7 separate regions of the Homo sapiens genome follow, and all the other regions are linked to region 2. Evidence: promoter capture Hi-C in 16 types of primary human blood cells and fetal thymus (Javierre and others, 2016). All regions are on one chromosome and are shown on one strand. The core of a region is centred on a gene start or on the middle of the fragment in contact, and the rest is flanking DNA. Distances in the headings are between cores, read along the strand shown. Region 1 holds the start of IL18 (interleukin 18). Region 2 holds the start of TTC12 (tetratricopeptide repeat domain 12). Region 3 overlaps REXO2 (RNA exonuclease 2). Region 4 overlaps DIXDC1 (DIX domain containing 1). Region 5 holds the start of FDXACB1 (ferredoxin-fold anticodon binding domain containing 1). Region 6 holds the start of PIH1D2 (PIH1 domain containing 2). Region 7 overlaps BCO2 (beta-carotene oxygenase 2).

The links. The method cuts DNA at HindIII sites, captures the fragments that hold promoters and counts their contacts. A CHiCAGO score of 5 or more calls a contact.
Region 1: a contact is called between the fragment with the promoter of IL18 here and the fragment with the promoter of TTC12 in region 2, in 1 of 17 cell types (monocytes). The highest score is 8.1, in monocytes.
Region 3: a fragment that was not itself captured here is called in contact with the fragment with the promoter of TTC12 in region 2 in 1 of 17 cell types (total B cells); the score reaches 6.6 in total B cells.
Region 4: a fragment that was not itself captured here is called in contact with the fragment with the promoter of TTC12 in region 2 in 2 of 17 cell types (monocytes and activated CD4 T cells); the score reaches 6.4 in monocytes.
Region 5: a contact is called between the fragment with the promoter of FDXACB1 here and the fragment with the promoter of TTC12 in region 2, in 7 of 17 cell types (naive CD8 T cells, total CD4 T cells, total CD8 T cells and 4 more). The highest score is 9.1, in naive CD8 T cells.
Region 6: a contact is called between the fragment with the promoter of PIH1D2 here and the fragment with the promoter of TTC12 in region 2, in 1 of 17 cell types (non-activated CD4 T cells). The highest score is 5.5, in non-activated CD4 T cells.
Region 7: a contact is called between a fragment that was not itself captured here and the fragment with the promoter of TTC12 in region 2, in 2 of 17 cell types (naive CD8 T cells and total B cells). The highest score is 6.0, in naive CD8 T cells.

What each region holds. Positions count from the first base shown.
Region 1 is chr11:112,162,751-112,166,348 of GRCh38, forward strand. IL18 (interleukin 18) reads right to left here and starts at 1,344. Exons shown (of 6, transcript NM_001562.4): 1 at 1,156-1,344. It overlaps TEX12-AS1 (TEX12 antisense RNA 1), which reads right to left. Exons shown (of 3, transcript XR_001748384.2): 2 at 3,326-3,426; 3 at 2,612-2,769. The HindIII fragment of the contact is 1,434 bases long and covers 585-2,018 here.
Region 2 is chr11:113,312,832-113,315,931 of GRCh38, forward strand. It overlaps TTC12 (tetratricopeptide repeat domain 12), which reads left to right and starts at 1,752. Exons shown (of 22, transcript NM_017868.4): 1 at 1,752-1,787. It overlaps TTC12-DT (TTC12 divergent transcript), which reads right to left and starts at 1,625. Exons shown (of 5, transcript NR_199709.1): 1 at 1,499-1,625. RefSeq lists silencers at 1,563-1,812, 1,836-2,130, 2,023-2,122. The HindIII fragment of the contact is 13,389 bases long and covers 1-3,018 here.
Region 3 is chr11:114,442,461-114,445,550 of GRCh38, forward strand. It overlaps REXO2 (RNA exonuclease 2), which reads left to right. Exons shown (of 7, transcript NM_015523.4): 3 at 1,396-1,473; 4 at 2,081-2,192. Among named protein-coding and RNA genes, the nearest start is that of REXO2, 4.5 kb to the left of the region's middle. The HindIII fragment of the contact is 192 bases long and covers 1,328-1,519 here.
Region 4 is chr11:112,021,930-112,025,176 of GRCh38, forward strand. DIXDC1 (DIX domain containing 1) reads left to right here. Exons shown (of 20, transcript NM_001037954.4): 20 at 1-724. Among named protein-coding and RNA genes, the nearest start is that of DLAT, 1.9 kb to the right of the region's middle. RefSeq lists an enhancer at 2,441-2,630. The HindIII fragment of the contact is 1,386 bases long and covers 1,305-2,690 here.
Region 5 is chr11:111,877,532-111,880,730 of GRCh38, forward strand. It overlaps FDXACB1 (ferredoxin-fold anticodon binding domain containing 1), which reads right to left and starts at 1,634. Exons shown (of 5, transcript NM_138378.3): 1 at 1,430-1,634; 2 at 1,025-1,181. The coding sequence starts at 1,601. It overlaps CFAP68 (cilia and flagella associated protein 68), which reads left to right and starts at 2,010. Exons shown (of 4, transcript NM_022761.3): 1 at 2,010-2,074. The coding sequence starts at 2,030. RefSeq lists enhancers at 1,302-1,921, 1,418-1,887. The HindIII fragment of the contact is 2,066 bases long and covers 351-2,416 here.
Region 6 is chr11:112,072,513-112,075,627 of GRCh38, forward strand. PIH1D2 (PIH1 domain containing 2) reads right to left here and starts at 1,505. Exons shown (of 6, transcript NM_138789.4): 1 at 1,468-1,505; 2 at 486-693. The coding sequence starts at 662. NKAPD1 (NKAP domain containing 1) reads left to right here and starts at 1,787. Exons shown (of 6, transcript NM_018195.4): 1 at 1,787-2,404; 2 at 3,055-3,115. The coding sequence starts at 3,063. RefSeq lists enhancers at 1,590-1,639, 2,050-2,169, 2,230-2,279. The HindIII fragment of the contact is 10,336 bases long and covers 1-2,481 here.
Region 7 is chr11:112,206,141-112,209,666 of GRCh38, forward strand. The region is part of intron 8 of BCO2 (beta-carotene oxygenase 2); the gene reads left to right. It also overlaps the pseudogene MRPS36P4. Among named protein-coding and RNA genes, the nearest start is that of PTS, 19 kb to the right of the region's middle. The HindIII fragment of the contact is 1,552 bases long and covers 826-2,377 here.

The DNA of each region.
Region 1 (3,598 bases), core at 94-2,593, 1.2 Mb before region 2:
TTAATCTCACAGGCAATAGGAAAACATTGCAGATAAAAAGTTATTTTGAAGGAAGTTTGTTTGTTTTTTTGTTTGTTTTTTTGAGAAAGTCTCGCTCTGTTTAGTGGCTGAACTCACCACAGATTTGGCTATCCTGGGCTCAAGCAGTCCTCAGCATCCTGAGTAGTTCTACAGGCATGCACCAACACACCCAGGTAATTTTTTATTTTTTTGTAGAGACTGTGTTGCCCTGGCTGGTCTCAAATTCCTGGGCTCAGGCCTGCCTGAGATTCTAGGCATGAGCTAGTGCACCTGGCCTGAAAGAAGATTTAATAGAACGTAAAGTAGCTGAATATAGGCAAAAAGACGAATTTCAGGAGTCCTAAAATTTAGGGGGTCCTAATTTTTGTTATTCAACTTCAAACAGAGATATTTATTCAGCCCTTTCCTTAATTGTGAAAGAAAATTATCTCGGGGAATGCTATATTATCCAATTGTAGCCCAGTCCAAAGGTGTGGCAGATTTCACAAGATGACTAACCATGGGCAAATTTTTTGTTTGCTTTTAATGTAACTGATTCTGTCTTGAGATTCCGTTTAAAGAGAAGCTTATTTATTTTACCACTCTAAAGCAGCAATTCTCAGGGAGTTCCTAAAGTGAAAGCTATTTCTAATAATTCTAAGACGTAATTTGTCTTTTTCACTCATTCTCTCATGAGTGTACAACAGAGTTTACCAGAGGCTACATTCTGTGCAATATTGCAATAGTCTGAATGCAAAGCAGATGAGAATCCAGCAGATCTATATGGCTTCTATTAAACCAGTTAAAACACTTGTAAAAATAAAAAAGTGTCACTCTTTATGCTTTTTTTTTGTTGTTAAAAAAGTACATAGTTATTTTTAATTAAAAATGTTACTTATGCTAACATGTGATGTGCTTAGTGTAAAGGGAACATGAGAGCAAAAAGTTTGAGAACCTCTCCTCTAAAGTGATACTCTCCCATATCTGATAAAAGAAAAAAATTCTACTCTGACTTTGCTTATATTTCTTATGTTGATACTGACTGCTCATCGTAGTGATGCTAGATGGTTTATATTCCTCTCAATTGCTTTCTAGCTTATTTACCTCTAATTGCCATGGCTGACTTTCCAAATAAAGAGGAATGATATTTCTTACCTGCGACAAATAGTTTGTTGCGAGAGGAAGCGATCTGGAAGGTCTGAGGTTCCTTTCCTCTTCCCGAAGCTGTGTAGACTGCAGCAGGTGGCAGCCGCTTTAGCAGCCAGAGTTGGCAGCCAGGAGGGCAAAATGCACTGGGAGACAATTCCTTGCTGACTGTCCAGGCAGTCGCCAGGGGAGCAAAGGGCTCAGCAAGCTGGGGAGAGAATGAGGAAGAAGGTGGAGGGAGGAGACTGCTGTCGGCACTCCTTGGGCCCGCCTTCAAACAGGCTCTTTCCTAGGGCAATGGAAGTCGAAATAAAGTGGCAGAGGATACGAGTACTTCTTTTAATGTAATATCACTATTTTCATGAAATCTTTTCTTCCGTAAAAGTTGGGGCTCTGTGCCTTCCAAAACCTGTACCTCTTTCTGAGTATCTCTTTCTGACTTTAAGAAAGCACCTCCTTAGTCCATTAGAAGCATCTTCTTTTGTCATCTGTCTCTCTTCATTTTCAGACTTCCTGGTCACACTTCAGCACAAAACTTTTTCTTATTTTACAATGCGGAATAATCAGTCCTATTGGGGTAATTCCTACAATGTTACAACACTTAAAATATTTCTAAAATGTAACATTTTAAAAAAAGGAACATTTTGCAAATATTTTCTTTTACTTTATAACCTCATTCAGGACTTCCCCTTCCTCCCAAGCTCAATATGGTGTCAAAGGATAGTTGATACAGGCCATTAAGATTTACTTTTCAGTGGAACAGGAGTCCATTTTCATAAAACTTCTTTATCTGCTGTATCAGATGCAAGCCACACGGATACCATCATTAGAATTTTATTTAATAATTTTTACACTTTCTGCAACAGAAAGTAAGCTTGGGGAGAGGGATACCAAAATTCAGGTAAGAGGGCAAATATTTACTTGCAGTTTCCAGTGTTAAAACTTTCTATTCCTGGAATGATAGCAAAGACTGACCTAAAATATTTGAAATACAATTTAAGGATACATATATTTAGGGCTTATGTTCAACATGTTAAAAAATAGTCTTATAAAATGTAACGTTTGAAGAGCAGAGTGTAAATATCACAGTCTTGAAAATAATTAGTGGAAACAAAATTTCTTAGCCATTTTTTTCTTGAACATGTGCTAAACTGTATTACTTTGCTAGGAAGGGAATTAGCAAGGTGGCATTTTGTTTTTGTGTTTTGCCAGTACAGAGTTGATATAAAAACAGAGGGGTTCCTAGAGTCAGGGAACAAAATGCTTACATAAACACTACTTTTTGTTGGTTTGTTTGTTTTAAAAACAAGATAGGGTTTTCATTTCGGGAAGTCATAAAAACATCATGTCCTTCAACAGTGATTACAAAGGAAGTCTGTGGCAGGGTGGCTGGAAGTGCTTGGTGTGGTGACTATCAGAAGAAAAAAAATAGTACCTTTAAGAAGTATATGATAAGAATACATACGTGACTCAAGTTGAAATAGTAAGTTTTCACCTTCCAACTGTAGAGTCCAATTGGGCCAATTAACATGAAAGCACGAAGTGGGATCAAGTAGTGATCAGAAGCAGCACACTAAGCAAGCTCTAATTTTAAATATTCCATTGCCAGTGAATTTTCTCCAGCTGTAAAGATGCAGAATGTGTAATTTACACATTTTGAAGTTTTGGGACAAACACTTTTTTCTTTGATATAGAGCAACAAATGTCTCAGTGTCCTTTGTACTTCATAGAGTTGTTTTCAAAGATTAAATGAGATAATGATGACAGCCCTTTGAATATTTTAAAGCTCTAGATAACAATATCATCTCACTTATTCCTACCCATTTAGCTTATGCAATGGAAGTTAATATTTAAAAAATAAAAGAAAATAAAATGTCCATGGTGTTCTCTTAATCTGATGAAAGCATTTATGCATTAGGTGGAATCATTTTTCTTGGAAATATTTTAAGAATCAGATGGACAACCACCTGTTTAAATATCATACAGTGTGAAGGCTGTGAGATGAATTCCATGAGTATTTCCCAGACCCTTGGGTTTAATGAACCATTAAAAATAATAACAGCAACCATGATAATAAGGAGGAGGAGATAAACACAGTGGACAACTCTACATTTTACCAAGGAAGGACACTAAAAATGTAAGAATTTTTAATCTTTTTATTTCATAAAACTTATCTCACCTGTGCCCCCCAAATTAGGAAGGACATGGTATCAGAATAAAGCACAGTCACTTTAAAGTGAATATATTTGACTTGATGAAAACTTTATACTGCTGAAGAGTCTGAAACAATAAAGATAAAAATTAAGGCAAACTAAAACTTCATTCCTTTTCCCTTCATTTTACCACAGAGGGTAAAAATTCAACACAGATTGCTATTGTTCTGGGACAGTGTTTGAGACTCCTTACTTCGCCATAGTTATCTAGGCTAGTATTATGTGGCCTATATTTCACA
Region 2 (3,100 bases), core at 502-3,001:
CTTTGTGTTATACTGCATTAGAGGGGTACCCAAGCAGGATGGTATGTGTACCAATGCATCATAGAGACTTCAGCCAAACAGCTCTTCTGTTCTCTACAGGACACAGGCATGCATCCTATGGGGCCTAGGCCACAAGAGAGTCAACAGGCTGTACTTGGAATCAACACTAGAGCTAGCTGGCCATGCCTGGATCCCTCTCCCCTCTGGCGAATTCCATCTCTAGGGGCTCCTTGTTCCCTGCCAAACAGGTTTCCATAAAGCACTCATTTGCCAAGAAGTTCCGGGTGTTTCTGACCGTGAACTTAAGCTCAAGTTTCCCCTAAACCTGCTTTTTTTCCATTGGTAACCCTGCACATAATACTCTGAGATTTTGTTTAGAAAAACAGACTGAAATTTCTTTAGGGCTGTGTGCATGTATTTGGGGCATGAATGAATGTGCCTATTAGCTCATTCTGTTCTAAACCCTATGATTCCCCGGATGTCACGTGCCACCTGTTCCTACTGACTAGGTACCAGGCACTGAAACCACCATTGCAAAATTATAACTGAGATGGTGAAAGGGATCTGACCTAACCGACTCCATCTTGCTTCTCATCTCCAAGCTGTCTTTGTTCATTCCTAGGCATAGGCCAAACTAACTTTGGGGGGAACTTAGTTTATAGTGTAGCTTTGAAACAAAGACAATACCAGCCCTTTCCCAAACAAACCCCCTTCTTGCCCAGGAACTAGACTGCCTTTTCAGGACTAACAAATTAGCCACAAAATTAGAAATTATGGTTTAGGAGTCATGCAGCTAGAGGCTGCAAGATTCTAAACCTCAAATTGCTCCTGGGGATAACATCAACTATTGTAAAACCTAAGATCAGTGCTTAAGATATTTCACAGACACTGCACTCGATGGATCAGCTGGCACCACCCAGATGAATAAACTGGCTCATCTGGTCTTATGACCCCCACCTGGCAACTGACTCAGCACAAGAGGACAGCTTTGACTCCCTGTGAGTTCATCTCCTAGCCTACCAATCAGCACTCCCGACTCACTGACCCCTACCCACCAAATTATCCTTAAAAACTCTGATCCCTGAAAGCTAGGGAGACTGATTTGAGTAATAATAAAACTCCGGTCTCCCTCACAGCCAGCTTTGTGTGAATTACTCTTTCTCTATTGCAATTCCCCTGTCTTGATAAATCGACTCTGTTTAGGCAGTGAGCAAGGTGAACCTATTGGGCGGTTACAGCACTTTAACCATAAACCTTATGAGAAAGTGCCATTTCTCCATTTCACAGGTGAGAAAACTGAGGATTAAAAAGGTTACTCAAATAACTTTCCTAAGGATAAATGTGTGAGTCTTCTAACTCACACATTTATCAATGAACAAAACCGGATTCACAAGTACACTGGAGACTTTACATTTTGGGCAAGGATATTAAGCTAACGGGAGTGAGACAACCCTTCTTCAGTAGAAAAAAGGCGAGCAGCAGGCGCTGCTTTAGTTACCAGCACTTTGCTTCCTCCGTCTCCCCGCGCCAGGCATCGGGCATCCCAACCTCGACTTTGGCCTTCAACTTGGCGCGCTCCGGAGCTAGAGCTCTGCGGTAGCGAATCTGATCGCGTGTCCATGCCCGCCCCCTGTCCCGCCTCCTGGCTTTTGACCCCGTCCTTGGTCCCGCCCCGGGCCCTGGCTCCTGGCCCCGCCCTTGGTCCCGCCCCGGGCCCCTGGCTCCTGGCCCCGCCCCAGCCCAGGCAGGTCACTGCGCCATTTCCTGTCCAAAGCTGGGCGAATCAGGTCGGTGCCGCGGGGTACCCCGGAATCCCCCCTGGGAGCTGGTCCTGCACTGGCCTTCAGAGCCGAGCAGAGGACGCTGCTTTGGGCCCCAGAGCATGGGAAGGTCTTGGCTGCGGTCTGGGACGGCTGCGGTCTGGGACCTGCATGGAGGGCCCGGGACTTGCGGACGCCTGGGAGCGGTTGCTGGGCAACAGTGCGTGCGGCCTGGCCTCTTTGCGCCCGGCGGGCAGCGCGCGTCTGGGGCAGGCTCCGCGCGGGGCTCGGGCACAGGTCCCCGCTGCCGCAGCCCTACCGAGTGAAGCACTGAGCGCGGCGCCGCTTCGCCATCACCTGGCTCTGGCCCTCTCACCCTAGCGTAGGGGGGCACTGGCCAGGCAGTGAGGACCCTGAGATCCATGCCCTGGGAGACAGAGGTTGTCTCCTGTCCATGCACCCGCGCGCCTGCCTTCTAACCTTCATACCGTTGGGCAGATTAATTCACTGGACTAGGCCTCTGTTCCGTGGGAGTTGAAAAGATTTGACCTGGAAGAAACCCTAGCGATTATTCAGTTAAGCCGCAACCCCACCCCCTGTTTTATATAGGTAAGGGTGCTTCACGGTGAGGACTCGTCGCGTGCCTGGTGCTTTACATCAGTCCCCAGAATAGTCCTCGTAGTTTCTCTCTTACTGTTCCCATAGTATGGGTGAGGACTCTGAGGCTCGGAGAGGTTGTGAATTTAGCCAGAATCACACAGCTTGTAACTGGTGGAGATGAGGACACTGAGACTCGATTAAATCACTCGTAGTTTGTTCGTGGCAGATTACGTGTTAGAAGCGTGTTACACTACTATGAAACCTGGCCATAAATGAGAATCACCTGGAAAGTGTTTAAAATCTATATTCGTGTCTGGGCAATGTCCCGGGTTTACTGACTTGAAATCTCGGGCTACGGCTGAGGAAGCTGTATATTTAACAATCTTCCCGATGATTTTTATGATCTGTGGATGAACCACTGAGTACTGCTGGGTACACCACGGGGCCTTCTCGCACAAAAACAACTGTAAAATAATATCTGAGGTACCTAGAGCAGAAGAGACGCTGGTGAGCATGGTAACATTATGTTCTAATCCCTTCAGTCAATTTGTACCCTTTCTTCACTCTTCAGAAACAAGCCAAAGGCAGATTTTAAACAAGTATGGACATTTAGATGCAAATTGCCCCAAGTTTGTTACCTGTCACACATCCACATTTAAGCTTCTGACTAGACCAGCCTGTCATGATCAAAGTCAGGTGTTAGTGTATTTCTCTATCCTTGGCAACCTGTCATCTGCTCT
Region 3 (3,090 bases), core at 174-2,673, 1.1 Mb after region 2:
TGTTTCTTCGCAGAGATTACCAACACCAGTTTTCTTGTTTGGCTAAATCTCCTTTTTAGTAGTAGGATGTCAGGCGTATTTTAATTAAATTCTAGCCATTTCTTTCAGTGATTGTGAACTGTTTTTACCACCTTAGTAGTAATAATACCTTGGATTTATGGAATACTTTTCTATCAGAGAGTTCAAAGAGCTCATATCTATAATTTCTTTTATCCTGTTAACATTTCTATGAGGGAAGGGGTACAGTTTATTATTATCACTATCTTACAGAGGGAGAAGCTGAGGTGACTTGCTTTAATGCCGTAGCTACTGTTAACTGCCAGGACTTATCTGAGAGACTCATACTTGGATGTTCTATGAAATGGAGCTGAGAATTTGAGGGCTACTTTGTGTTTTGGATATCAACAATTACCTCTTTAATTTTTTTTTAAATATAAAAATACTGTTAAAACAGTGTAACTATCCAAAGTATGTGTGTAGTGAACTATTGGATTTTTGTCCTGTTCTATTGCTCCTTCTTACTCCAAGTTTATGTATTGTCTTGATATTTTGTATGTTTATATAAATGCGTGTTTTTTTTAAAACAAGTGTAAATGAAATCATACCTATACATACATGGTTTTGCAATTGTTTTTTTCACCTGCAATATAGATACTTTTTTTTTTTAAGAGATAGGGTCTCACCCTGTCACCCAGGTTGGAGTGCAGTGGCATGTAGCTCACTGTAACCTCGAACTCCTGGGTTCAAGTGATCTTCCTGCCTCAGCCTCCTGAGAAGCTAGGACTGTAGGGGTGTGCCACCAGGCCCACCTAATTTTTTTTTTTTTTTTTTTAATTTTGTAGAAATGAGGTCTTGCTATGTTGCCTGGACTGGTCTTGAACTACTGGCCTCAAGTGATCCTCCCACCTCGGCCTCCCAGAGTGCTGGGATTACCATGCTTGGCCTAGACACTTTTCAAAATGAACTCATAATCAAGGGTTGACAGACTTTTCTGGAAAGAGCAAGTTATTAAATTGTTTAGGCTTTGAGTGCAGTCATATGTTCTTGTCATATGTTCTTTTTTTTTTTTAAACAATCTTTTACAAATGTAAAAATCATTCTTAGCTTTCTAGCTATTAATAAATAGCTGAAGTGTGGGGCCATAGTTTGCTGACCCTTGATAGATATCTGTGTCATCTATTTGTAGGATTAGAGTTTTCAGTGGTGTGTGTATGTTCGTATGTTCTATTTTGCCTTAATGAACAGTGCTGGAATGAAGGGGGAACACTTAAAGTATCCTTATCTCTTACTTTCTCTGATATGTATATTTAGTCCTTAAAACAGCTTAAGCTTTCCCTCTGAAAGTAAGGTTATTCCTGTTGTTTCTTGGTGACTGATGGCGTTTCCCATCCACAGGGTCCTAACCTGATTATAAAACAACCAGATGAGTTGCTGGACAGCATGTCAGATTGGTGTAAGGAGCATCACGGGAAGGTAACATTACCAAATAACAGGATTGCTGCTTTGGGGATCAGTAGCAAGCTTTTTGCTCCCACACCTGAATCCGATACCATTGTTGGATGGTATTTTAAAAAGGCTTAGAGAAGATTGCATGGCAAGCCTGGGAAACTGCTTGCTTGTTTACTTTTCATCTTTGGGACCTCTCGAGATCATCTTCTCCTGAATGTCCTCTTTTTTTTCTCTCCTACATTCAGTCTGTCGCGAACGCATTGTGGATTGTCAAGTATTACTCAAGTCAGTCTTTTGGATAAGGTTAGACATCAACTTTCAGAGAAGGGGGATTGCTGCTCTCCTGTTAATAGTTGTTTCTTCCCAGAGGTTAATATCCTTGGACTTTGAACACCGTCTTTTTTGACTGTGGACATGCTATTAACAGTCAGGATCATAACTAAGTTGGCTTGGATTCTTGAAGAAAAAAAAATGGTGCAAAGATGGCAGTTGCAATTTGAACTTGAGCTCTAAAAATGGTCTATTTGTGGTTATATTTGCCCATTTTAAAAGTGAAATTTCATTTCTGGATGCCTTTGAAAACTGACTTTACATGTGTTTTTGGTGGGGGGCTGGGGATTCTCTCTTGCAGTCTGGCCTTACCAAGGCAGTGAAGGAGAGTACAATTACATTGCAGCAGGCAGAGTATGAATTTCTGTCCTTTGTACGACAGCAGACTCCTCCAGGGCTCTGTCCACTTGCAGGTAAAATCCAATCCTGTGTATATCTTATAGTCTTCCATATGTAGTGGTTCAAGAGACTGCAGTTCCAGAAAGACTAGCCGAGCCCATCCATGTCTTCCACTTAACCCTGCTTTGGGTTACACATCTTAACTTTTCTGTTCAAGTTTCTCTGTGTAGTTTATAGCATGAGTATTGGGAAAATGCCCTGAAACCTGACATGAGATCTGGGAAACACAAACTTACTCAATAAGAATTTCTCCCATATTTTTATGATGGAAAAATTTCACATGCACAGAGGAGTGGATTTAGTAATTGTTAACCTTGTGTCGTATTTGTTTTACCTATTTTTTGTTGGACATTTTAAAGGAAATTGCAGGCATCAGGACACTTCATTCCTAAATACTTCATCAAACATCTCCTAAGATAAAGACATTTTCTTATGTAATACAATGTCATTGCATTGAAGATAATTAAACATTATTCAGTATCATATGATATCTAGTCCACATTAGATGTTCCCCAAAATATTTGTTTTTGAACCAGGATTCAGTCAAGGCTCGTGCATTTCATTTAGTTATATTTCTTTAGTCTCTTAATGTAAAACTTTCCACCTATTATTTTTCCCCTGTGTCATTGACTTTCTAAAGAGACCAGGCCTGTTCTACCAGGATTTTTAAAAGGGTGACATTGCCAGAGGGAAGTTAATGTTTCTCTGAAGGTATATGTACGTTTGTATATGTAAGTCGATGTGGTAGCTAATACTGTTCTTAAACATTTATAAAAATAAGTTTTGGCATTAAGTACTAGAGCATATATTGTGTAAATGTTTCCGCCAGCCAATGTGGCTGATATCTGTTTTAAAGGTCTCATTTAAAATTTAGTGTTTTTAGTATAAGTTACTTTTTGGGGACATAAATAT
Region 4 (3,247 bases), core at 748-3,247, 1.3 Mb before region 2:
GATCATGCCACTGCACTCTAGCCTAGGCTACAGAGCAGGACCCCATCTCCAAAAAAAAAAAAAAAAAAGTCATTTAAAAACTGAAGAATGTTCTCTTCTTGCTCAGTTCCCTAAATTAGCTGGGGGGATTGGGATACTTTACAATTTTTACATTTTTAAATTTGAAGAATTTGTTTTAAACTTACTTGGTAATGGCACTTCTACTTACTGACCAACTTTTCAGCTCTTTTTGACCAGGATGGTTGCAAATTAGGGAAAATATCTTTATACTATACATCCAATTCAAGAGGACTTTAATTACTTAAAAGCATTTAGGTCATAATTAAAATTATTTTCACTGTTTCCATAAAATAAGCATTATGATTGCACACTCCTTCTACTGTCTGAATTTATGTAAGAGGTATAGCTTGCTTAAAATACATATATATGTAAAGTTATATTTTCTTAGAAACATGGATGTTTACAGCCATTGCTTTCAAAGAGATTATTACTGTGTATTCTCCCTGTTTTACAATATGTTTTCATGAAGACTATGTTACACCAGAGGCTTCTGATTATCAAAGTGATAACCAGTTTTAACTGCCGGTATGTACCAGATTTGTGAACTAATTTAAAAAACCACAAACTATGAATAAAATGGGGTTTGCAAACTAAATATCATTAATGATTTTCACTTGCGTTTACTGATGAGATTAATCAATAAAGCCATTTACATTTAGTGAAAGCAAATTTCCTCAAGTGATCTCCCTGGTAGCATGTTTACTCACTATGTGGAGTGGAGATAAGAATTACTTTATTGCTACAGATATTTTACAATTAGTATTTCTATGTAAGCACATAGGCTATTATCAAGGACAATTTATTTAGCACTTATTTTGAAATTATATGTAAACATGCAAACAAATAAGAACCCAAGAGTATAAACTCTATGACAAAAGTCAGTATGCAAGCATTAAGAACTCTTTCAGAAATGTGTATTTAAAATGACCAGAATTCCCAGATCATTTGAAAGCTGCCTCTTAAATGCCTCTTATCAATTCATCTTAAATGTTTGCTATATTAAATTCTTTATCCCTGAGTGCCTTCATTTGACTTCCAATTACGTATTTTCAACTATTAATTGGCTATCCCATTATGTTAAAATTAAATATGTACATAACTCAAAATCTTTCACTACCAACTAATTTCTGTTTCTCTCAATATCAGTGATATCACCATTCTCTTAAGTATCTCTATTTCAAACCTTTGAGTCTTGAGTCTCCTTTTCCATAATTTCCTTTATCCAGTCTGTTTAGTGGAATTCAAGCTTGTTCTCTCAGGACTGATTTGAGAAACCTAAGCATTCCTAGCCCACCTCTGGGGTAAGCTCGCCATCTCTGGACTGTTTGAGCTATGCATTCCTATAATTTAACTACACTTAAGTCAAAAGTATATTCAAGACACAAACTCGCTATTCTTTGAAAAATGCAAAACAGGGTTTAAGCAAGCATACCTAAGTGCACAACAGATCCGGAAGATCACCTCATACTTTATACCAAAGTCTAATTTAGATCCAGTTATTAAGTTCAAATGCAGCAAAAGCAGCAAGATATTTTAGCCAACTCAAAAACATTTTTATAATAATTTATAAGTCCTGGGCGGGCATGGTGGCTCGCGCCTGTAATCTCAGCACTTTGGGAGGCCGAGGCAGGTGGATCACCTGAAGTCAGGAGTTTGAGACCAGCATGACTAACATGGTGAAACCCCGTATCTACTAAAAACACAAAATTAGCTGGGCATGGTGGCACGTGCCTGTAATCCCAGCACTCGGGAGGCTGAGGCAGGAGAATCGCTTGAACCTGGGAGGTGGAGGTTGCAGTGAGCCGGGATCATGCCACTGCACTCCAGCCTGGGCGACAGAGTGAGACTCCATCCCCAAATAATAGTAATAAGTCCTTTCAGTAATTACAATTATTCTTTCATTGCTTCTTCCAATTGTTAATTCATAAGTTGTACATAATTGTAACAATATAATTGCTCTCTTCATATTATTTAAAATATGCCTTTTCATTCAATCTAGAAATTTTATATTTCTCAATTATATTGCTTACATATTATTCTGATAGACAGCTGTACCTGCTTAAACATTCCAATTTAAGTAGGCATGAAATAGTACATCCAATCTGTTTTAGTTTTCCAAATTAATTGTTAGCAAGATTAGCCCCCATTTTTTTTTTTTTTTAACAGATGGGAGTCTCATTATGTTGCCCAGGCTGGTCTCAAACTCTTGGGCTCAAGTGATTCCCCCACCTCAGCCTCTCAAGCATTGCTGGGACTACAGGCATGCACCACCGCTCCTGGCTAAAATCTTGTTTTAAGTTTCTTCCCTCCAACTTCCTCTTGCGTTCTTGGTGTTCTCTAACCATCTCTACAGGGGGGAGGTGGTGATACACAGCACATGCTTCCTCCTTATCTAATGTCACCTTCAGTTCAGAAACGATATGTTTTCTAATTAAAAGACAACTTTACAAGAGAAGCGTGCCTAACAAAATGTGTAGATGACTTTTTATTCATTGATTCAAAAGACATACATTCAGCCCCCGCTATTTACTGGATATTAAGCTCTGGGGCTACATGGAAGGACCACGCAGACACTCTTCATGCCTTCAACGGCTTACAGTTAAGTTTTTCAAACATTTGAAACATAACGAAGCTTTTGGTTACTTAAAAGAATTCTATGGTATTAGGGAGCAACACCTGTTTTGTAAACCTATATCTTCATACAGGGAATATGCTTAATCTTGCTACAGTATACATGAATGCGGGAATGTATCTTCCTCTGGGCTGCCTTTCGTTACCACTTGGCTGGGTGGAACACCTGTTCACTCCACTTTCCACTTGGGCTACAAACCTGAAACGAAATCTTTGCAACCAGTACAGCCTGCGCGGGGCGCGGCCCAGTCCATCCCCCTTCGGATGCGCAGAAGCAGAGGTCACCACGCCGGACCCCTCGATTCCCTCGCGGGCGATTCCTGGCTCCTTCACCACCCCAGCACTCCAAGACCCCCGCCCTTTGGCCTGAGGCTCCCACTGCCCTAGCCAGTTCCCGGGCTCACTTCCAGCTTTTCCAGAAAGCTTGGCCACGCCCCTCGGCCCAGACTCTCAGGCCACTCGGCCGCAATTAACCCGCGTCTCTGCGCCTTTTTAGGCCCCTCCCCCTCGGTCGTGCCCTTGTCATCTCTTAGGCCCCGTCTCACCCTTTCGGATG
Region 5 (3,199 bases), core at 384-2,883, 1.4 Mb before region 2:
TTTGAGATGGAGTCTTGCTCTGTCGCCCAGGCTGGAGTGCAGTGGCACGATCTCAGCTCACTGCAACCTCCACCTCCCAAGTTCAAGCGATTCTCCTGCCTCAGCCTCCCAAGTACCTGGGACTACAGGCACGTGCCAGCACGGCCAGCTAATTTTTATATTTTTAGTAGAGGCGGGGTTTTGCCACTTTGGCCAGGCTGGTCTCAAACTCCTGACCTCAGGTGATCTGCTCACCTCGGCCTCCCAAACTGCTGGGATTACAGGCATGAGCCACCACGCCTGGCCCAGTTAGTTACTATTAATATCCCTAGTTTACAGTTGAGGAAACGGAAGCATGTAAAGATTAAGTAAGCTTGCTTAAAATAACAACTGTTGGCCGGGCGTGGTGGCTCATGCCTGTAATCCCAGCACTTTAGGAGGCCAAGGCAGGCGGATCACAAGGTCAGGAGATCGACACCATCCTGGCTAACACGGTGAAACCCCATCTCTACTAAAAATACAAAAAATTAGCTGGGCGTGGTGGCGGGCGCCTGTACTCCCAGCTACTTGGGAGGCTGAGGCAGGAGAATGGCGTGAACCCAGTAGGCGGAGCTTGCAGTGAGCCGAGATTGCACCACACCACTGCACTCCAGCCTGGGCGACAGGGCGAGACTCTGTCTCAAAAAATAAAAATAAATAAAAATAAAAAAATAACAACTGTTAAGTGGTGGGCTGGGATTTGAATCCAGGCAGTCTGGCTTCTAAGTGCACGTTCTTAGCCATTAGACTATATGGCTCTCATTATTTTGCACTGTCAAAAATAAATGATCCTCTTTTACACACCCAAGAGTACATTATTTGTACTTTCATTTAGCATTTAGGGTTTATATATCTGTCTTTCCAACTAAACTTGGGGTTCCTTTGGGGCTTTATAGTCTCTTCTAAACATATCATAGTAGCTTGCACGTGTGCCTTATGTTTGGGTACAGTAACTATGTTATGGACATCTTAAACATTTTCCTTGTGAGGGCGCTCCTTTCCTCACCTTTGGAAAAATTTGGCAAGCAGTTCCCTGTTCTTAGCTACGCCAGCTTTGCGTCCACAATGCGGGAAGATGAAATAAATTTGATCAAATTCTCTCTCGTGCAGTTCAAAGACATCTGCCAGCTGGGTGCAGTCCACACCGAAACGTACATCGATACCTGGCAAAGATAGTTTGGGGGCGCAAAATATAGACAGGAGGATGCCTCAAGACATGGAACAGAAAAACTCTTCCTAACTTAAACCGTGCAGACCAGCCCAAGTCTGGGCACAAAGCCGGCTTTATGTGAATATCCGTGGGACGATCAAGAACAATCTCCACGTGGGTTACATCCCCACGCCCCCACCCTTTCCACTTTGGGACGCGCCGGCCGCTGGGCGGGGTTTCGCAGAGGGGCGGGCTCGCTACCTCGCTCGCGCAGGCACTGCAGATTCTCCCAGGCCAGTGGATCCCGAGCCAACTCGGCCGGGCGCTGGAGGCAGGTGGCGGTAAGTTGAGTGCTCTGATCCAGGGTTTCGCTCAGAGCGGCGGCGAAGGAGAAATTCCCCTCCCCAACCAACAGGAGGCGCCGAGGGGCCATGGCCTCCACGGACTCCCGGCTCGCGTTCTCTGTGGCGCTCGTTTTACGTCACTTCCTTCACGGATCTCTCTCCGCCCCGTCTTCTCCCGTCACTAGTTGATGACGCACCCATGGCGCCTGGTTGTCTAGACGAGCCGGTGTACCGACTCCCCGGTGGATGATAACTATGAGTGCAAAAGCAAGACGCGCACTTTCCTGTCACCTCGCCCTTTCACCCCCTCGGGAAGATCAAAGTGTCTTTAGCCCAAGCATGGCCTTGAGCGACTTCATCACACCTGCATGAGGTCACAAGCAGTCACTAGCGCAGGGGGGTGAGGCGAGTTCTGGGTGAAAGAAACGGGGCGGGGCTGAGGCCAAGGAAGAGGTTGGACTGTGTCTCGCATGCTCCTGACGCAGAAGGTTTTGAACCTTTTTTCACCTCGTCTGAAATGGCTGCCTCCCAGTGTCTCTGCTGCTCAAAATTTCTCTTCCAGGTGCTTAAATCTCCTATCTTCTATTCGTTCAAGAAAGAGTATTGAGTGTCTATTGCGTGCCAGGCCACTGTGAGGGTGGTTACGATATGTGGATGAACAAAATGTGGCCTATGATTTCAATGAGCCTGCAGTCTGGTGGGGAATGCACAGAGCAAAACAGGCAACTCTGATATGGCAGGGTGTGTGCTCTGGGAGCACACAGAAGAACGTTACCAAGTTTGGGGGCGAAGAGGGTCAGAGAGTCCTTGGATGAAGTAAACCCGAGTTGAAAGCTAACAGGGTAAAAGTGCATCTTAACTGAGTCAAGAGGCGTGAAGAGGCAGAAGGAACAATATATGCAAAAGCTTGATGGAGAAACAGAATAGTTGAGTTTGGCTGAAACACAATTGGAGGGAGAGTAACAGATGAGACTGAAGAGTTAGGCAGGGGCCAGGTCATAGGGAGCGTTGTAAGCCTTTAAAAAAAATCAACTTTTATTTTACAAATGGGGGTACAGGTACAGGTTTGTTACGTGGATATATTGCACCCAGGTAGGTTGCAGGTTTGCTACATGGGTATATTGCACCTAATAGTTTTTCAACCCACACCACCCGCCCTCCCCACTCTAGTTAGTAGCCTGGAGTGTGTGTTGTTTCCATGTTTAGGTCCATGTTTGCTCAATGTTTAGCTCCCACTTATAAGTGAGAATGTCAGAGGTATTTATACCAGAGCAACTCCGTCTTGAATAGGGGCTAGGTAAATAAGGCTAAGACCTGGGCTGCATTCCCAGTAAGTTAAGGCATTCTTAGTCACAGGATGAGATAGCTCAGCACAAGATACAGGTCATAAAGACCTTGCTGATAAAACGGGTTGCAGTAAAGAAGCCAGCTAAAATCCACCAAAACCGAGATGGTGATGAGAGTGATCTCTGGTCATCCTCATTGCTACACTCCCACCAGCGCCATGACAGTTTACAAATGCCATGGCAAAGTCAGGAAGTTACCGTATATGGTCTAAAAAGTGGAGGTATGAATTAATCCACCCCTTGTTTAGTATATAATCAACAACCATAAAAATGGGCAACCAGCTGCCCTCAGGGTTGCTCTGCATATGGAGTAGCCATTCTTTATTCCTTTACTTTCTTAA
Region 6 (3,115 bases), core at 255-2,754, 1.2 Mb before region 2:
TCCAGCTTGAGCGACAGAGCCAGCAAGACCCTATCTCAAAAAAAAAAAAAAAAAAAAAAAAAAAAAGTCTGCCAGGCGCAGTGGCTCATGCCTGTAATCCCAGCACTTTGGGAGGCTGAGTCAGGTGGATCACCTGAAGTCAGGAGTTCAAGACCAGCCTGGCCAACATGGTGAAACCCCGCCTCTACTAATAATACAAAAATTAGCCGGGCATGGTAGTACACACCTGTAATCCCAGCTACTTGGGAGGCTGAGGCAGGAGAATCGCTTAAACCCGGGAGGCAGAGGTTGCAGCGAGCCAAGACCACACCATTGCACTCCAGCCTGGTGACAAAGTAAGACTCTGTCTCAAAAAACAAAACAAAACAAAACAAAACAAAAAAAAAACAAAAAAAATTAGCAATACCTAAGTGTAAAGTATTCTCTGGTTATTCTGGGATCATTTCATTCAAGACCTCCCCATCCCTGGCACCAACTCGACATACCAGAATCCTGGTCTGTAGACAAAGCTGTGGTTCTGGGGCAGCACAGAGCTGTTTCCCTTCTTTCAGCTGCTGCTGAATAAACTTCTCATAGCCCTCAGGGTCACTCTGAGCTAGATCATCTAGGAGGTTCCAAAACTGAGTAACTTGGGTAAGCAGACCTTTTGAGGATGTCTCCATGACTTATGAGTGGTGAATAATTTTCTTAAGCCTGTGGAAAAACACGACTTCAGGAAGAAAACTGTCTGTGTAATTATTGATTCATTTCTGCTTTGGGGAGGTGGAATGGGTCAGGAATTGTTTTGGTGAAGTTAGGACAGCATTTGTGTCTAAAAGGTTGTGGATCAGCACCACTTTATGTTTTCCTTATTCTTTAATTATCTAGTACCTCTTCCTAAATTCTCACATTGTCCTCTCAGATAAGGCCTTACTTCTATTTGGACCCTGACAAGTCAGAGTAATCATTTTAAGTCTGGGTTTCCTGATCTTCTTGTTCCAACACCTGACTGGTGGCTCCCCAGTTCTGAAATTGCCAGAGGTGTGGTGTGGGGTGAGGGCCACATAAGACTTCCTTAATCCTCAGTATAGTTTAGTATTTCAAAGCATGGACTTGTGAGCCAGAATGCCTAGATTCCGGTCTTAGTTCTATCTCTCACTAGCTCTGTGACCTTGAGCAATTAATGTTCTGTTCAAAATGAAGACGATAATACCTCTACCATAGGATTATTGCGAGATTAAGTAAGCTAATAGAGAGGCTGGGACACTTCTCTACGTCTTCAGATAAATCTCCTTAGCCTCTTCTCCCATTGGAGAGGTGTCCCACAGCATCTTTAGAATGAGGAAAAGAGGTTTAGATTCTTCAATTACTGTGTAAGGGTTATGCTAAACGGGAAACTTAACTAACGGATAATCATTCCATAGGTCTGCAAACCCACCTCTTCTCTCAGTTCTAACGGGTAATCATTCTATAGGTTGGCAAACCCACCTCTTCTCTCAGTTCCTTGACAAACCGCGACGCCTGTTACCAGGGTAACCAGCCTGGGTACAACATCTAATTGGGTCCGGGGAACTTCAGGGAGAAAAGTCTCTTCATATCTAGTTCCGGAATGTCCCCCTTCTGGTGCCAGGCTTGCTTTTCAGTTGGGCCTGACCCACTTCTCTTCCAGGAAAGCGCCCGCCTTCCTTCTGCACCCGTCAACCTCTGGAGTGTCCTGAAAACCCTCCCTTGTGGGAGTCTCTGGGCTGCCTGTTGGTGGGACGATTTCTCAGGAGCACGACTTCCGGCCTGAAAAGGAAGTCTCCTCCTTTTTCTCCCAAACCACTTCTTCCCCCCTACCCCCCGCCACGCGAGGCTGCGGCGCACGGTATGGGTGTGTTTGTGTGTATTTGTGTGGGGAGGGCGTTTGGAGGGAAGGTTACCGGGAGCTCCGAGGCCGCTGGGGAACAGGGATCCCGGTGACAAAGATGGGGATATTTCCTCTGTCTTCCACTTGGAAACCTCAACCCCCGCTTCAGGCTCCCTAGATACTTTCTGGGGCCCAACCGAAGGCCGTAGCCATCCAAAGCGTTCCCAGCCTTTCTGGGGAGTGAAACTTACCCCCGGGGTTCGTCCTAGAGGAGCGTGAGCGGGGAATGCCCAGGTCAACCGGGCTGTCCGAATTCCGCCCCGGCTCAGCCTCCGGCCTCAGTCCGGGAGAGAGATCTGCCTGTCGGTCTGGGCTGGGGGAAACGCGGCAGTGGCCTGGGCCACAGGTGAGGGCAGAGTAACCAGTGGGAAGGCTGCGTTTTCACGAAGGACTCGGGTGAAGCTGCAGAGCTGCCTTTGAGCCCTGACTCCTTGGCTTCCTGGGTCGGAGGAGATCTTGTAATGGAGTGGTTCTTCGTCTCACTAGCAAGATGCCTGATTTCCTCAGGATCAAGGGGTGAGTGAGCGTTGGGGTGGTTGCACAAAGCTCCTGCTAGCTACACACGAAAATATTCTTGTCATCTAGTTTTTGGAAGCTTCCGTAGCAAGTAGGAAATAAAATGCCCCCAAATGGAGAAATTTAGGACATCTTTGCATTTGATGTTTTGAGTAATCAGTTTCTGTTACTGTTGACACCCGTGGTTCCTGACACTCTCAAATCTACGTATTTGCTTCAGTGCAAACTATATTGGGATTGGAGGTTTGATTTTTAATTTAGACAGTGACATACATCATTTGCCTGGGACTATGTGGCTTGGGACGTTACAGCTTTAAGGGAACTTCATCTACAAAATAGGGATGGAGATACTTGCCTCATATAAAAAGTAGTTATGAGGATTAAATAAAATGGTGCTCATGAAAGCACTTAATTTTATGTAGTCTTGTGCATTTTCAAAGAACTTTAATGTACATTATCTCCTTTCATCTCACATTAGTGTGTTTAGGCATTTCCCTCTTTTAATGGTAAAGGGAAAACTATTCTTTAGAATCTCTGACTTCTAGTTCAGTGATCTTTCCTGTACCTCATATGCTTCTTTATAAAACTTCAAGAAAAGATAAAGTAATAACAGAAATTATTACTAAACGTTATTTGTTGATTCATTTCAGATTGAAGAATGTCCCGGATTCCACTGGGGAAGGTCCTCCTGAGGAATGTCATCCGGCACAC
Region 7 (3,526 bases), core at 352-2,851, 1.1 Mb before region 2:
TCCTCACTTCCCAGACAGGGCGGGGGCCGGGCAGAGGCGCTCCTCACATCCCAGACAATGTGGGGGCCAGGCAGAGGCGCTCCTCACTTCCCAGACAGGGCAGCGGCCGGGCAGAGGCGCTCCTCACTTGCCAGAGGGTGGGCGGCTGGGCAGAGGCACTCCTGGGGCGGCAGGGGCGGCAGCTGGGCAGAGGTGTTCCTCAGTTCCCAGACGGTGGGCGGCCGGGCAGAGGCGCTCCTCACTTCCCAGACGGGGCGGCGGCCGGCTTTTCCCATTTTTTAATTGGGTTATTTGTTTTTCTGGTATTGAGTTGTAAGAGTTCTTTATAAATTTTGAGGCCAGGTGTGGTGGCTCACGCCTGTAATCCCAGCACTTTGGGAGGCCAAGGTGGGAGGATTGCTTGAGCCCAGCAGTTCAAGATCAGCCTGGGCAAGATGGCAAGACCTCATCTCTACAAAAAAATTTAAAAATATACAAATTTTGAGTATAATTCCTTATTGGATATGTGGTTGCAATTTTTTTCCCCAGCCCATAGGTCGCCTTTTCGTTTTGTTGATTGTTTCCTTTGCTGTGCAGAAACTTTTAAATTTGATGTCAACTTGTCAGTTTTTGCAAGGAAAAAACCTGATACAATATTGCAACTGTAGATCAATTTGGAGACAATTGACATCTTTACAATATTGAGTCTTCCAATCCATGAACATGGAATATCCCTCCATTTATTTGGGTCTTTTAAAATTTCTCTCAGTAAAGTTATAGTTTTCAGTATAAAGATACTACATTTCTTTTTGTGTGTTTTGAAATTATTGTAAATGGTATCTTTTAAGCTTTCATTTTCTGTTTGTTGCTCTTTATAGAAATGCAATTGATTTTGTATATTATCTTCATATCCAGAGATCTTGCTAAATTCACTTATTAGTTCAAATAGTTGATCCACAGATTATTTTGGATTTTCTATGTGCACAGTCATGTTACCTGAAAATAATGACAGCTTTCTTTCTAATACTTAGGGCTTTATTTCTTTTTCTCGCCTTACTGTACCAGCTAGGACTTCGAGTTGAATAGAAGTGCAAGATAGTGAATAGAAGTTGAATAGGTAGTGTTGAAAAATGTTTAATAATTCATTATTAAATATAAAATTGCTATAGGTATTTTTCTAGCTATCTTTATCAGATTATCCTAATAGTGCCTTTTAATGAATAAACATTCTTAACTTAATATGGCCCAGTATACAGTCTCTTCCTTTATGACTTATACGTTGTACATCTTGTTTTAGACATCTTCTCATGGCAAGGTAATGAAAATATTATCCTATGTTATCTTCTAGAGAAGTCAAGTATCTGTATATGCATTATTCTGTTTCTGGACTGTATATTCTGTTCCATTGTTTCTACTTATGGTTACTTGTGCACTGCATTAAAAAAGTCTTAAGGTTTAGTGTCAAGTTATCCTAATATTTTTCTTTTGAAAAGAGTGTCATGGCCATCCCTGGCCCTTCACGTTTTTGTAGAAATTTTAGAATCAGCTGTCAGTTCCCCACACAAAAATATGGTCACATTTTAATTCTATTTGCACTGAACCAATGTATCAATTTGAGAGAGGACTAACCTCTTTACACAATGTTGAGTCTTCCAGTACGTGAACACAATATATCTTTCCATTTATTTGAGACTTCTTTAATTTCTTTCAATGTTTATAGTTTTCTGGTTACATATTTTCTGCATCTTTTGTTAGATTTATTCCTAGGTTTTTTTTTTACATTATTTTAAATGTTGTTTATTTTTTGCTTTCATTTTATGTTAGTGTTGCTATATAGCAATTTTTTTTTTTTGAGACAGTGTGACGGTCTCACTCTGTCACCAAGGCTGGAGTGCAGTGGTGTGATCTCAGCTCACTGCAACCTCTGCCTCCTGAGTTCGAGCAATACTCCCACCTCAGCTTCCTGAGTAGCTGGGACTACAGGCATGTGCCACCATTCCTGGCTAATTTTCATATTTTTTTGGTAGAGATGGGGTTTCACCATGTTGGCCAGGCTGGTCTTGAACTCCTGACCTCAAGTGATCCACCCACCTTGGCCTCCCAAAGTGCTGGGATTACAGGAATGAGTCACCGCACCTGGCCGGCAATTGATTTTTGTTTGTTGATTTTATATTCACTAATATAGTAATTACACTTACAAATTCTAATAATTATAGATTCTTTTAGATTTTTACATCTATAATATCATATGCAAGTAATGATAGTTCCTTTTCTAACTCTACATGTAAGCTGTATATTGGCTTTTTTTTTTTTGTCTTATTTCACTGGATCTTCAGTACAGTGTTGAATATAAGTGATGATAATGGCATCCTTAACTTGTTCCCAATCTGAGAGGCAAAGCTTGCAGCATTTTACCATGAAGCATGCTGTGGCTGTAGATTAAAAAAATATAATAGAAACTGTCCCTTCTCGGGGGTCATGATGGGCAGCAAGATGCATCTGCTAGCAGTGTCGTTCAGGTAGTCAAGCCACATGCTCCATTAATAAGCTTCCCTGCTGGAAGAGACAATCCTAAACCCAATGTACCAGAAGCTCTGAGATCAGCAGGGCAACCATCTCACGATTCTGCAATTTCCCAGCATTCTAAGGGAAGTAAATTACTGGATTTGTGGATGTACCAGACACTGCAGAAGTAATGAAAACATTACCTCAGAAATATAGAAGTAAACTTGTGTCTCAAGAAGAAATTGAATTTGTCCATTGTGGAGATCCAGAATAATCACTGTGGCTGCTGTTTGTCATCAGACAAAAGAATTACCTTTACAATAAAGGACTTCCAAAAAAAAATAGACTGTTTTTTAGAGCAATTTTACTTTTAAAGAAAAATCAAGCAGAAAGTATGGAGAGTTTCCATATTTCCCTCTCCTGCTAATGGTACATTTGTTACAACTGATGAATCAATGTAGGAGTGTTACATTATTACTAACTAAAGTCCATACTTTACATGATGGTTAGGTCTGTGTTGTACAGTTCTACCGGTTTTGAAAAATGCATAATGTCATGTATCTACCAATATCATACAGAATAGTTCACTGCCCTGAAAATCTCCCTGTGCTCCCCCATTCGTCCCTTCCCCTTTCCTCCTCTCAGCCCCTGGAAACCACTGATCTTTTCACTATTTCTGTAGTTTTGACTTTTCCAGAATGTCACATAGTTGGAATCATACAGTATGTAGACTTTTCAGACTGACTTTTTTCACTTAGCAATATGCATTTAAGGTTCCTCTGTGTCTTTTGTGGCTTGAGAACTCATTTCTTTTTATCGCTGAAATGTGTATTCATTCATTTATTGAAGGACATCTTGGTTGGTTCCAATTCTTGGCAATTATGAATAAAGCTGTTATAAATATTTGTTAGCACGTTTTGTGTGGACAACTTTTTAAAAAGATACATTTTATTAGATTAGGAGAGTTCCCTTTTACTCCTAGTTTACTGAGATTTTTTGTCATGAATGGATGTTGGACTTTATCAACTGTTTTTTTTCTGCA